2 separate regions of the Homo sapiens genome follow, and region 2 is linked to region 1. The links are contacts of gene promoters, found by promoter capture Hi-C in blood cells and fetal thymus (Javierre and others, 2016). All regions are on one chromosome and are shown on one strand. Each heading gives the region's core, a stretch centred on a gene start or on the middle of the fragment in contact. The rest is flanking DNA. Distances are from core to core; before and after follow the strand shown.

The links. Contacts are between HindIII fragments. The CHiCAGO score rates a contact against its expected background, and 5 or more counts as called.
Region 2: the fragment with the promoter of SLC1A7 here is called in contact with the fragment with the promoter of ZYG11B in region 1 in 1 of 17 cell types (endothelial precursors); the score reaches 5.7 in endothelial precursors.

The regions. Positions count from the first base shown.
Region 1 is chr1:52,722,873-52,729,392 of GRCh38, reverse strand. ZYG11B (zyg-11 family member B, cell cycle regulator) reads right to left here and starts at 2,940. Exons shown (of 14, transcript NM_024646.3): 1 at 2,710-2,940. The coding sequence starts at 2,739. RefSeq lists a silencer at 2,550-3,129. The HindIII fragment of the contact is 1,298 bases long and covers 1,826-3,123 here.
Region 2 is chr1:53,138,186-53,145,366 of GRCh38, reverse strand. It overlaps SLC1A7 (solute carrier family 1 member 7), which reads left to right and starts at 2,729. Exons shown (of 11, transcript NM_006671.6): 1 at 2,729-3,052. The coding sequence starts at 2,918. The HindIII fragment of the contact is 4,621 bases long and covers 699-5,319 here.

The DNA.
Region 1 (6,520 bases), core at 1,691-4,190:
AAAATCAAGTTAATTAGATGCAAAGTTTAAAACATAATCATGCCTAATATGTCTGCTGTGGTCTGAATTCTGTCTCCCTAAATTCATATGTTGGAATCCTAACCCCCAAGGTAATGGTATGAGGAGGTGGGGCCTTTGGGAGGTGATTAGATCACCAGTTAGTGCCCACATGAATGGGATTAGTGCCCTTATAAAAGAGACTCCAGAGAGCTGCCTGGCCCCTGCCACCATGTGTGAAAACAGTGAAAAGGTGACTTAGGAAGAGCCCTCACGAGACACTGAATCCACTGGGGAACTGATTTTGGACTTCCCAGCCTTCCAAACTCTGAGAAATAAATTTCTGTTGCTGACAAGCTACCTAGTTTATGGTATTTTGTTACAGTAGATTGAATGGGCTAAGACAGTATCTTGCTAGCCTCATTTCCTACTACACATCTCCATTCTTGCATCCTTCCATGCTATATAAGGGTAATACTACTTCCTACAATGCATCCTAATTCCTTCCTACTTTCTTTCTTAAAAAAAAAAAAATCCCTGTGAGGGGATCCTTTCTACTTGCTACTCACATTCACAATGAGGCATTCTTCCCCTTCCCAAAATGATCTATATAAATCCTATTCAACTTTCAGGCCCAGCTCAAAGGACACTTTTAGATCCTAAATACCTCAAAGGGGAGTTCATAACTCCTCCCTCTCATACATTCATTCTCAATGGAAGGGCCCACACTTTCAAAAATCTAGCAGTGTAATGTCTTAGGTAGGATAGCTCTTTATTCTGAAAAGTATATCATCATACCTCACTCAATATCATTTTTGCATCAAAATTAAGATTCTCTGCCCAGGCGTGATGGCTCATGCCTGTAATTCTAGCACTTTGGGAGGCCAAGGTGGGAGGATGGCTTGAATCCAGGAGGTCAAGACCAGACTGGGCAACACAGCAAGACTCCATTTCTACAAAAAGTTTTACAAATTAGCGGGGCACGGTAGTCCGTGCCTGTGGTACCAGCTACTTGTGAGGCTGAGGTGGGAAGATCACTTGACCTCAGGAGTTCAAGGTTGCAAAGAGCCATGATTGTGCCACTGCATTCCAGCCTGGGCCACAGAGCAAGATCGTCTCCAAACAACAATTCTCAAACTCACTCTTTCTGTGTAGTCCACTAGTTACCTCAAATTTCAGTTTAAGTTTATATTAGTCAGGTGGGAAATGAGACCATAAAGTGAATCATTCAAGCACCTAGCTGGCCTGGGCACTTGGAATAATAAGTAAGGAACGGTTGCTACCTAGAACTTACATTCCACAGGGAGAAACAGGTTAGCATACAACAACAGTGTGTGAAAGTGAAGGAGACAAACACAGGAAAATGACAGACTAAAAATGCAGGAGTGAGTTAGGGAAAATTCATAGATTAAATAATTTTATAGTATATTACTTTTCTAAAAAACTGCTGGAGGGAAAAAAAGAAACTGACTAACCTCCTAGGGGAACATAATTATCAGGACTTAGTTTTGCCTTATTCCTCCCAGAGACCAAAATTTAGCTTGTTGCATATGATGGAGCAATGTTTTCAATAAATGTACAGCAAACCACTTATAACCCAACTCAATGAAAAAACCAACTGAAGCCTCAACCTATTTTCAGACAGAAAGAAAATTTGCAAATATAAGGTTCTCCCAACTAAAGGCAGACAGGGCAAAACAAATGAACTCTTTAGAAGGTTTAAAGAGACTGTCACAACCTGCCAACCTGATTGTCAGTCCTCAAATGCCCTTGGTCTCTGCCTCCAAATGAAAACAAATCATTTGTTTTTAGTAATAATAGCCAAGCTTGTAAATAAGTATTTTTAAACTTCTCCAACTGCACCTCCACATTAAAAGATGCTCAAAATAAAAAAAATTCAAAACATTTTTTAGCTATTTCTGTCAAAAGACTAGATCTCTCCTGAGGTCACAGTATGCATGCTGGCCCTCACTTCACTGCTCTGTAACACACCACCACTTCGATTTTGCAATGACACTAGGTGAATAGGCTTCCAGGATCTCTTCAATGCCTCCAAAAACGAAAAGGAAGAAGCAAACCTATAAATCCCTATCTGCCCGCCCTACAGCTCCCGGGAAGCAACAGTCCTCAAATTGTTCCTGCTTAGACCCCTGAAGCCCGTAGAAGGAAATGGGGACAGCTGCGACGGCGAACCGAGCGAGGACATCCGATAAGGGAAGAGGAAACGTGGATGGAAGAGGACGAAGGGGAGAAGGAACACGGAGAGAAGGGGGCAGTGGAGATAAAATGGTGAAGAGGGGTGAGAAGAGCAAGGAAGAGCAGCGAAAACTAGGGAGGAAAGGGGGGAAAGTAAAAATCACATAAGAGGAAAAAAGGCAAAATGATAGAGGAGAAAGAAAGGAAGGGTTAGGGTTAAAGGACAAGGAGTGGGCGACAAAGGGAATGCGAAAAAGGCTGTCACTGGGGGTGATAAAAAGGATGTCATCGGGGAGAAGGGAGATTCAGGGGGTGTCACCTAAAGGGGTTCACCGAAGCAGGTGAATGGGGAAGGAGGAGCTGAACACCGAGGGGGCGGTAACGAGGGAGAGAGGTAAAGGCAGGGAGCCCGAGGGGACACCAGAGACAGGGAGGGGCAAGACCGCAGGGGCCAGCGCGACGGGCGGGGGCTAGGGTGGCGGGCGGCTGCGGCTAGGGCAGGCCTTGCTCCCTCACCATGGCTGCGCCGGCCTGGTCCTCGGGCATGCAGCCTCCGTCCTGGGTGCGGCGGCGGGCCGGACCGGAGCCCGCCCCCAGGCTGAGCCGGCGCGGAGGCTCCAGGAGGCTCCGGCGAGCGGCGGCTCCGGGCTTGGCCCAGGCCTCGGCCTCTTTCCCTCAAGCTAGGAGCGTAGCAGTAGCAGCCGCAGCCGCAGCCGCAGCCGCAGCCCGAACCAGAGCGCAGACTCCGCCCCCGCGAGGACCCGCCCGGGCGCGCGAGCCCGCGCCTGGACCCGCCTCCGCTCTCAATGCGCAGACTCAGACGAGGGGGTCCCGCCCCCCCCAGCCCGACCTCCAGCTTCTCCCCCTCCCAGGCCCTTAAAGGAGCCACACACCCCCAAATCCTAGCATCCCTTCAAAATATGAAAAGCTTTAAATATTACATCATGACGAGAGATTAGAGCATCGCTCACTTCGGTCACCTATAGACTCCTCTGTCATTCACCATCATTCTCTAAGATTTGGGCTTCTGGTTCACTGTCATTCATTACTACTATTGTCATAACTCTTGGTTATTTCAAAATTCGCTTAATTCTTCCAATCCTCTGGCCTCTCAGATTCTTCTCTAGGGATCATTCTTGGCTCAGCCTCTCACTCTCATGCTCATACGAATAATTGTAACTTCTCTACAATCTCAATTTTAATCCTCTAACTCCCATTGCAACCTTCTTCCTTTCTTTCTTTCTTTCTTTCTTTCTTTTTTTTTTTTTTTTTTGAGATGGAGTTTCGCTCTTGTTGCCCAGGCTGGAGTGCAGTGGTGCGATCTTGGCTCACTGCAACCTCCACCTCCCGGGTTCAAGTGATTCTCCTGCCTTAGCCTCCCGAGTAGCTGGGATTACAAACACCCGGCACCACACCCGGCTAATTTTTGTATTTTTAGTAGAGAAGTGGCTTCACCATGTTGGCCAGGCTGGTCTCGAACTCCTGACCTCAGGTGATCCGCTTGCCTTGGCCTTCCAAAGTGCTGGGATTACAGGCGTGAGCCGCTGCGCCCGGCCACAACCTTCTTCCTTTCTAGCTCACTCTGTCTGATAATACTCCAACTCCAAAAACTTCAACTCCAAGACCCCAAATCCATTGATCCAACTACCTTTTCGCTATTCCTCCCCACGCTGGCCTTATGTACTCACTTTCTTCCTGAAACAGCTTAGATTCTATCGTCCGTCATGAAATGGAATCTAATAGAATCTAAGCTGTTTGGGGAAGAAAGTGAGTACATGAGGTACATGAAGTCGATTTCTTCAGTATTACCTTCATTTCTCTAGTCGTTCTCTGCTTTCTTTGTACTGACAGAACTCCAGCAATGGAGTGGGTGGAGAAAAAGCCAAAAGTGGTTGACTGACTCCCCGTAAATTTGAGATCATTATTCTCAAGAGGCCATAATGAGTGGCTACCCTACCACATTTCTCCAGTTTCACACACTCTCCCACCTTGCTACATAACTATTTCAAGTCTCCTGTCTCTTCAAACCTCCGACACTTCCTCCCTCATCTCATTTAGCTGATGATTTTGCTTCTAATTCACAAGAAAATCAAACAAACCAAAAAGAACATCTACAAGTTCCCAGCACCCACCATGACTTCCAACGAACCTGTAACTCTGCTTTGATGCTCTCTCTGCCTTCCTTTCCTTACTACAAGTTAATTATTTGTCTTTTAGCTAACATCAAATCCTCCTCAGTTCTCAAGCATCTGTGCTAAAAGACCCAGATTTTATCCCCAATCACAAAACTAAATTTCTGTAAAATACAATCAAAATTAATTACTAGAAAAAATTAAAATTTAAAAACAAGCATCCAAAATGCAAGCCCAGATTTTTTAAACCTGCTTAACCATTTTAAAGTGTACAGTTCAATGGTATTAAATACATTCACATTGTTGTGCAACCATCCCCATCAAGAAGCTCCAGAACTTTTTATTTTTTCTTTTATTTATTTATTTATTTATTTATTGAGACAAGTTCTTACCCTGTCACCCATCAGGAGTACAGTGGCACAATCACGGCTCACTCAGCCTCAAACTCCTGGGCTGAAGCGATCCTCCCACCTCAGCCTCCTAAGCAGCTAGAACTACAGGCACATACCACCACGCCTGGCTACCTTTTTTTTTTTTTTTTTTTGTAGAGACAAGGTCTCACTGTGTTGCCCAGGTTTGTCTCAAACTCCTAGGCTCAAGTAATCCTCCTGCCACAGACTTCTAAAGTGCTAGGATTACAGACGTGAGCCAATGTGCCAGGCCTCCAGAACTTTTTTATCTTGCAAAGCTGAAAGCTTGTACTCATTAAACAATAACTCCCCATTCCTAACTTCCCCCAATCCCTCGCCATCACTGTTCTGCTTTCTATCTCTATGAATTTGACTACTCTAGGCAGAATTTTTATTATTAAACCCAACACGCGTAACATTTTTCTGTCAAATTGTTATAAAAGTTTCAAAATATTAATTCTGAATTGCTGTCACAAACTGGTGAAAAACCATTTCTAGATGGTCACTAGTCCATTGATGACACTTTGAGGAGCTCAAGTACTAGGTCTCATACCACGTCACTTTCTCAAAGACACCTATCCAGCAATTCTTCCTCTCACCTACATCGCTATTTTTCTGCTATTACCTCTCATTGCTATAGCAACATGATTTTATTTCTTCCATCTTAAAACAATCAAACAAAAAAACCCTCCTTAGGTTGCAGTGAGCCAAGATCACGCCACTGCACTCTAGCCTGGGCAACAGAGCGAGACTCCACCTCAAAAAAAAAAAAAAAACCCTCTCTTGACTGGACTTGACCCCCCACCTACTGCCCCATTTCTCCATTCTCTTTTCTGCAAAATGTCTCACAAAGGTGGCTTGTACATGGTCTCACTCTGTTGCTTAGGCTGGAGTGCAGTGGTGCGATCTCAGCTCACTGCAACCTTAGCCTCCTGGGTTCAAGCAATCCTCCCACTTCAGCCTCCCAAGTAGCTGGAACTACAGGCATGTGCCACCACGTCCAACTAATTTTTGTATTTTTTGTGGAGATGAGGTTTCATCATGTTGCCTAGGCTGGTCTTGAACTCCTGAGCTCAAGCAATCTGCCTGCCTTGGCCTCCCAAAATGCTGAGATTACAGGCATGAGCCACCTCGCCTGGCCTTGACTTCCTTTTTCTCATTTTCGGTGAGATCCTCTCTGGTTAAGCTTTTACCTCCTCCACTCCACTGAAATGCCCTTGTCAAGGTCACTAGTGGTGTCCATTTGCTGACACCAGTCAATTCTCAGTCCTCGTGTTACTTGACCTACCAACATCACTAGACACAGCTCATTACTTCCCCCTCCTTGGCTACCATGACATTTCACCCCCTCGGGTCTTCTATCTCACTGGCTGCTCCTAGTTTCTCCTCATTTCTCTGACCTCTAAATACTGTAGTACCCCAAGGCTCAATATTTCGACTTTTTGTCTTTTGCATGTACACTCCTTGATAATCTTATCCCAACACATTACTTTAAATATTATCTATGCTGTGATAACCCCAAAATTATATCTGCATTCTGAATTTCATACTTAAATATCTAACTGCCAGCTAAACATATCCCCTTATATGTCTAGTAAGCTACAATTTTTCTTAGTAGTTACTCAATAGACTTCCCCTCAAGTACCATGGATAAGCCAATAAATACCAAAGAGAATAGGACCAACAATAGTAGCTTAGACCAATCATGATTTACTCTCCGTCTGATCTGTGAGTTACTTTCCCTAAGGACTTCCTTGTAGTGGAGGAAAATCGTCATTAAAAATT
Region 2 (7,181 bases), core at 1,480-3,979, 420 kb before region 1:
GAGCTGGAGGGGTGACGGAAGGAGTAGGAGGTAATGCTGAAAGGGTGAGGAAAAGGGTGAAAGTGCCTTGCAGGGGAGCATAGACTCGATGCTGCAGACCGGGGTTTCCCAGGCGTGTTCTCCAAACACCAGGCCCAGGGAGTTCTCTGCTCCAGAGGAGGGGTGGGATTCTCTATTCTCCACTTGGTGACTTCCTCCGACACAGCCGCTACTGTAAAGACTTTCATAGTAACTACCTGGGGCTATCTGCAAGGCACTGGGCCACGCTCTAACCATGGCGCATGCAGCACTGTATGACCCACATCAAAACCCTATGATCTAGGTACTGTTGCATTATCCCCATTTTACAGGGAAGTTAAGAAATGTTCCCAAGGTCACACAGCTGGTTGAAGGTAGAGCTGAGGTTTTAACTCTAGCAGTCTGACTTTGAGCTGTCTCAGAGGAAATAACGTGCTTAACTTTTTGTTTCGTCCAGCATTTCCCAAACTTCCTTTTGATGTAATTATGGAAAAATTGTCTTGCACATCTAGTGACATTGTAAAAGGCAGTTGATTCTTTGTCAATGGTGAACTATTATAGGGTTCTGACCCAGGAGACTTGATTTGATTTGCAAATATTCTTAGTAAACTCATTATCAGTCACTTACACTTTAGTGTGAATTAGTCCGTTCTTGGGGTCTCTCCACTTTCTTATAAGCTTCCTGAAGGCAGGGCAGGTACTGTCTGATTCACTGTTGTGTTTCTAGTACCCAGGGGGTGTGGCACACTAAATGGTGCTATAAGAACATTTGCTAGAGTGAGTTGAAATTCTCCTGTTGAAGACCGTAGGAACAGTGGAAAGAATGGCTGTAGTCTGGTAGGCAGGTAGTGGTAGGCTCAGCCTGTGGGAGAGAGGAGTCAGTGGTGGCTATAGGGCACGTCCTGGGAATGGGAGTCATGGAGCTGTGGTAGAAAGCAAGACTCACCTATATCATGGCACAGCTAAAGGCCAGGTCTGGGCTGGGTGTGGTGGCTCATGCCTGCAGTCCCAACACGTTAGGAGGCCAAGATGGGAGGATTGTTTGAGCCCAGGAGTTGATCAAAACCCAAATCCAAATACCTACTTAGCATATTTTCTCTTCTGGGAAGTAACTAACCACCTGATTATTTGGAAAATGAGGCATTTGTTGGAGTTGAAGGTGTAGCAAGAAACTTTTGGTTTTAAGAGTCAAAGTCAGAGGAAAAAAAACTCTCAGACTTGTATTCACCCCCACCCCCCACCCCAAGCTACTGCAAAGAGCAGGGGCTTTGGAAGATTGGTTTGTTGAAATGAAGTTCCTTTGACAAAGGTACCTGGGCCCATTTCTCTCATTCTAAAAAGGACAAGACTGATACCCAGAGACGGCAAGGTCACAGAGCTGATTAAATTGGGATCAGAATCTTCTCAGTCAGGAGCTCTGTCCATGGCTTCAGAGCCTGTGCCCCAGTCCCCTCTCCCCACCTCTCCCCTATGCCCCACTTGGCCCGTCCTCTTCATCCTCTGCCCCTGTCTCCTATGTCAGGAGGAGGAAGCCCCTGTGTGCACCCCACCCTTTACCTCCCACCCTCACTGCAGACTGCACTTCCCATTCCCTGCTGCCTGCTGCCTGACTGCTCCTAATGAGATTACAGATCTCTGGTGAAATAGACGAGGGTTAATTCCCCCAGGCTTTACAGGGCAGGGCAGGCCAGGCCACAAGAAATAGCAAAAAGACACCTATTCTCCAAAGCACTAAGTGTGATAATGACCCTAAGAGTCCGTTCCCCTGTTCAGCACACCAGGGTTCACACTGCGTTTCCAAATACCCTCTGGGTGGAATTTTGTACCAGCCCTAACAAAGTAGATGCTGTTATCATCTCTATTTTACAGATGGAGAAACTGAGGCACAGTGAGATGAAATGCTTGTCTGAGGTCACACAGCTAGTAAGTGGCAGAGCTGGGACCCGAATGTGGGTCTCTTGGGCTCTGTCATCTTTAAAAAATAATAGGCCCAGAGAGCCTGCAGGGTGCCCAGCACCAGGCTTGAAACAGCCCTGAAGCATCTACGTCCCATTTCCCGGTGAGTGGCACAGCCCACCTTTGAACTCAGGTCCCCTGGACTCGAATCTACATTCCCCACAATACTGCCAAGCACCCTTGAACCTATCTGCCTGTTCATGTGGTGGAAACAGACTGGCCTAGCCCTGACTTCTGACCTCTGTGACCATGGCCAAGGGACTGGCTTCTGGGGTCTCAGCCTCCCTTTCTGAAAAATGAAGGTGGGAACCCTGGGATCTTTGGGACAATTCCCTATGATTGGCATAGCTAAGGCAGCCAGCACAGGCCTGGCCCGCAGCACATGCACCCACCCACCTCAGTTTCTTTATCTGTAAAATGGTGATATTAATAGTACTTATTTCTTGGGATTGGTGTTAGGATTAAATATGCCAGTACATGTAACACTCTTCTAGAATGGCACCTGGTGCATAGTAAATGCTTAATTAATGTTGAGGGAAACTGATATCTTACTGTCTTGTTTTTGATTCTTTCTGGAAGGAAGCAGGGGTAAAGATCAAACCAACCAAGCAAATGTTCCTCTTGTTCCTTCCAGTACCTGGTCCACTCAACTGTTTAAGAGGAACGCTTGGCTTTGAGGCCTGAACTCCTAGACCACGTGGTCTGCTCTAATTTCCCAGGCCCTAATCTGCTCCCAGCTCCTAATGATGCAGCTGGTAATAGGATTGTGGCTTCCCTCTAAGGCGGCCACACGGGCATGGCCGTGGGGCTGGCGACTGGTGTTTAGCAACTCCGACCACCTGCCTGCTGAGGGGCTAGAGCCCTCAGCCCAGACCCTGTGCCCCCGGCCGGGCTCTCATGCGTGGAATGGTGCTGTGCCCCTTGCCAGCAGGCCAGGCTCACCATGGTGCCGCATGCCATCTTGGCACGGGGGAGGGACGTGTGCAGGCGGAATGGACTCCTCATCCTGTCTGTGCTGTCTGTCATCGTGGGCTGCCTCCTCGGCTTCTTCTTGAGGACCCGGCGCCTCTCACCACAGGTCAGCCACCCAGAGCATCTCGGGACCCCTGTCCAGGAGGGGCGTGTGGGCCTGAGGGATCTGGGGTCCCGTTCTAGCATCACAGCTCCCTGGTGCCATGACAGTGTGTGAATCCCTCTGCCTCTCTGGGTCCTGGTTTTCTCATCTGTAACATGGGTGTGATAAACACTTTGCAGGACTAGAGGGAAGAACCAGTGATGTGGCTGGGGAGTGATTACAAACCCAGCACCATCAGGTGAGGAGAGGCGAGGGTGCCTCATGATGACAAACACAGGGCCAAGAGCTGTGGCGGGGAAAGAGGGGGGTCTTGTGTGAGTTCAAACAGGCACCAGAGAACACCTCCTAAAGGCTGCTCAAATGACAAGAGATCCAGGAAGCGTGCTCTAGGCAGAGGTGACAGCAGATGCCAGGTGCAGCGGCCGGAGCGCAGAGGCCAGCAGGCCCATAGGTCCCATCGCCACACGTGGGCTTGCGGCAACCATGAGATGCTTTTGGGCAGAAGAGCGACAGGCCAGTTTGGAGCTTGGGAGACCCCTCAGGTGCTGAGTGGAGAGGGGGTGATTCTGGGGCAGGCAGGGGGCCGAGAAGGGGCAGCCTGGGGGAGATGCGGCAGTGCAGACAAAAGGGACAGACGTGAGAACTGTTTTCAAAAGGGGGAGCTTCAGGATGTGGGGGCCGATTGGATGTGGGCTGGGGGACAGGAAGGGGAGCCAGGCCCCGGGTTTCCAGCCTGTGTAACTGCCATGAAGAAGCTGCGTTTCCTGGGAAAGAGCCCCTTTCCCTGTCAGCCCCCATCTCCTACAGGAGAGGGAGGGACATTCCCATGGTGTTAAGGACAAAATCATTCTGCCACTAGTTAAACTGGTAAGGAAGGCTCTATTCAGGACTATTGTGGTAGGGGGGTAGTTATCAAGACCTCCTGGGGAGAGAGATGGGACCCAACCACAAATACAACAAAGATGGCTGGAGATTTATAGCCAGCGAGCAGAGGGAGGGGGTCGGGGACAGAAAATGACTACAGGAGACATCAGGGTAGGGGGATTCTTGTTGAAGGCAGGCCAGGGTGATCAGACATTGATCTGGGATGAGGAATTTGATCCAGTATCAGGATGCTGGAGGGTGAGGGATCCTCACTAAACTGACTTGGCAGGACTTTTGCTACAGCTGGACTATGCAGGCTGAAGACAAGGCCCAAGGACAAAGCCCAGTGGAAAAGAGGGCTCAGAGGAGCCTGTCTAAAGTGTGGTCAAGGAGAGAGGCTTTGTCAATGGGCTCCTGGAAGAGTCCCTATTCCCAGAAAGTCCTCTTCCCGCAGCTCACTAATGTCTAATGCCATCTCTACAACTGGGGTCAGGCATTAGACTTTGTCTTCCATTAAAAGGAAAACACCCACTCCTGGAGAACTGAGCCACGACTATAGTGACCCTGTTAAGCCTCGAGCAGTTATTTAGGAAGAAGCATGGACTCTGGAGGCAGAGAAACCCTGAACTTTGACTCTGCTAGCAAATGGCTAGGCAATATCCTCTCTCCTCCCTGGGCCTCAGTTTCCTTGTCTGTAAAATGGGATGTGGGGCAGTATATGTCTACTAGAATTATTATGAGGAATAAACCAAGGATTCATCAATGCCCAGCATACAGTAGGTGCTTACTACGTGTTACTTCCCCCTCCCTCCCTTATGTACCTGTTAAAGTCCTATCTACATCAGGAACCATCTCATCATCCATAGCTGATGAAAGTAACTGTAACCCCGCTGCTGGCTGCCTGGCTTCAGAGCTGGTTATATGGGTGTCTCTTTCTCCCACCAAGCTGCATATTGCTGAACAACATATGGGTTTGTTTTTTTTTTTAACCAAAACGTGAGCCTAGCCCTGTGTCAGGCACAGAGAGAACGCTCAACTATCTGCTGCATTAAACTGGCAATGGAACAAAAAAATCTGCAATCTGTTCTCTTTAATTTTCCTCAGCAACAAAAATATATCTCCTGCAGGAAGATTATTTTGTGAAAACAAATTGGAATGCCTATTATTAAAAGCCAAACTCATCTGGGGCCTACTTTGCCAAAGCTGCCTTTCCCATCTGTTTGGAAATGCAAATGTATTCCAGTCTGGATTAACCTGCCAGATAAATTGAAGGAAGGATGTAGAGGCTTAGAACAATTATTTGGCAGAAACTGGCTTTCTCAGCATCTTACTTTGAAATCTGGGATTTCTCTGTTTGATCTCTTTGCCTGTGACTCAGAAACTAAACACTTCTTGTTTTGTAAGCTTATGCAACAGGCAAAAATCATAAACAATATGGAAAATGGTAGAATGTTCTATTTGTGAAAAAGAACTTTTATCCTTGATAAAATCACAGGATTTTATCTTGGTGTATGAGTGTCTCATTTAAAAATACTGAGCATTTTGAGACTTCCAGTTAAACCATGGTGAATCACAGGTGTATCCATTTTTTTCCCTCCTTCCTAGAATTCCACTAACATTTTAGTAATGGGATTTTTAAAAGGTAAAACCACCAAGAATAAAGAGAATATAAAAGGAGACAGTTGAGAAAAAGAAATAGAGAGGCTACAACAAATTAGATAATATGGAGGTGGGTGGAGCTGATGACCTCATTCACAGAAAGCTGGAATCTTAGTCTGTGGAAGTTGATACCAAGTCAGTTTGTCTTGCAGACTCCAGAACGTAACAGAGCAAGATGCTGCACTAGGCAGGGTGAGGCTGGGGTTGAAAGCCTGGGCATGGTTTGGAGTTTTGTAACCAGAGCAGTTAGACCCCTAGGGACCTTCCAATTCAGTTGGGGGACTCATCCACCCATCTCCACCCACTGCCTGCCCCAAGGAACCAGAGAAGCTGGACTTGAGGGTATTGGGCCACCCCTGTGTGTGTTGGGGAGAGGGCCATGCTGAGGCACCTACTTCAAACTAATTAACAGACATCCTTGTCTGAGTGGGGTCCCCAGCACGGTTTCAGATCGCTGTCAGCTGAGCTTAGGCACCATGTCATTCCTCAGCCAAAGGCAGGAAGAGACTTCTCTCACTGAGGCCTCAGAGAAAAGATCTCTAAATTCTGCTATAAAGGAGACTCCTCTACCATCCCACCCAGCCCCAGTGAAAAAGCCAGATCAGCACCTGTCACCCTGCCCTGAGGGCCGTCAGTTGACAAACCCTACTCATACATGCAGAAGTTTAGCGCTTCAAACTTACATACGAGCAGAAAGCCACGCCACCAGAAATGTGAGGAGGCTCCTAATGTGAAACAGAGTAAACGAAGAGAAAAGGGGGTCTCTAATGAGAGAAACAAAGAGAAAAGTGGGTCTCTAGTGAAGCAGAGACAAGGCGGGGAGGAGAAGGAAGCTTTGTAAATCTCCTCTTAAGCTTTCTGGAGCTGCGAGTGAAGATATAGTTACCGTACAACAGAGGGGATGTGAAAAGAAGGAACAATCAGAGAACAAGAAAGAATCTGGGGAAATTAAAAATAGAAGAACTAAGATAAAAATGTGAGTAGCTGCCCAACACATAGAAAGGATAAATACTCGAAGTGTTGGAGACCCTGAATACCCTGATTTGAACATTACACAGTGTATTTAACAATATACCAACTGTATCCCATAAATATGTACAAATATTATATATTAATATAAAAACTTTGGCTAGGCCTGGTGGCTCATGCCTGTAATCCTAGCACTTTGGGAGGCCAAGGCGGGTGGATTGCCTGACCCCAGGCATTCAGGGCCAGCCTGGGCAACATGGTGTGAGACCCCATCTCCAAAAAAAAAAAAAAAATTAATGTCAATAACTGGGATAAAGTTGTAGAAATCTCCCAGAAACTAGAACAAAAATAAATGAAAATAGAAAAAGAAAATATAAGAAAATTAGAATGTTCAATGTCCAGCTACCTAATGACACTTTTAGAGACAGCTAACAGAAGAAAAATAGAGGAGAAACAGTTTGCAGAGAATCTAAGCAGTTTCTCAGAAGTGAAAGGCAAGCATAGCACTGTCAATTTTGTTTACAAAAGAAAGAAAACCCCATACTATGGCCCATCACCATGAAATTACCAAAAAGTGGAGATAAACTGATGATCTTTGGATGGTTCTGGTGGAATAAAACCAACCTCATCTAAGGAACAG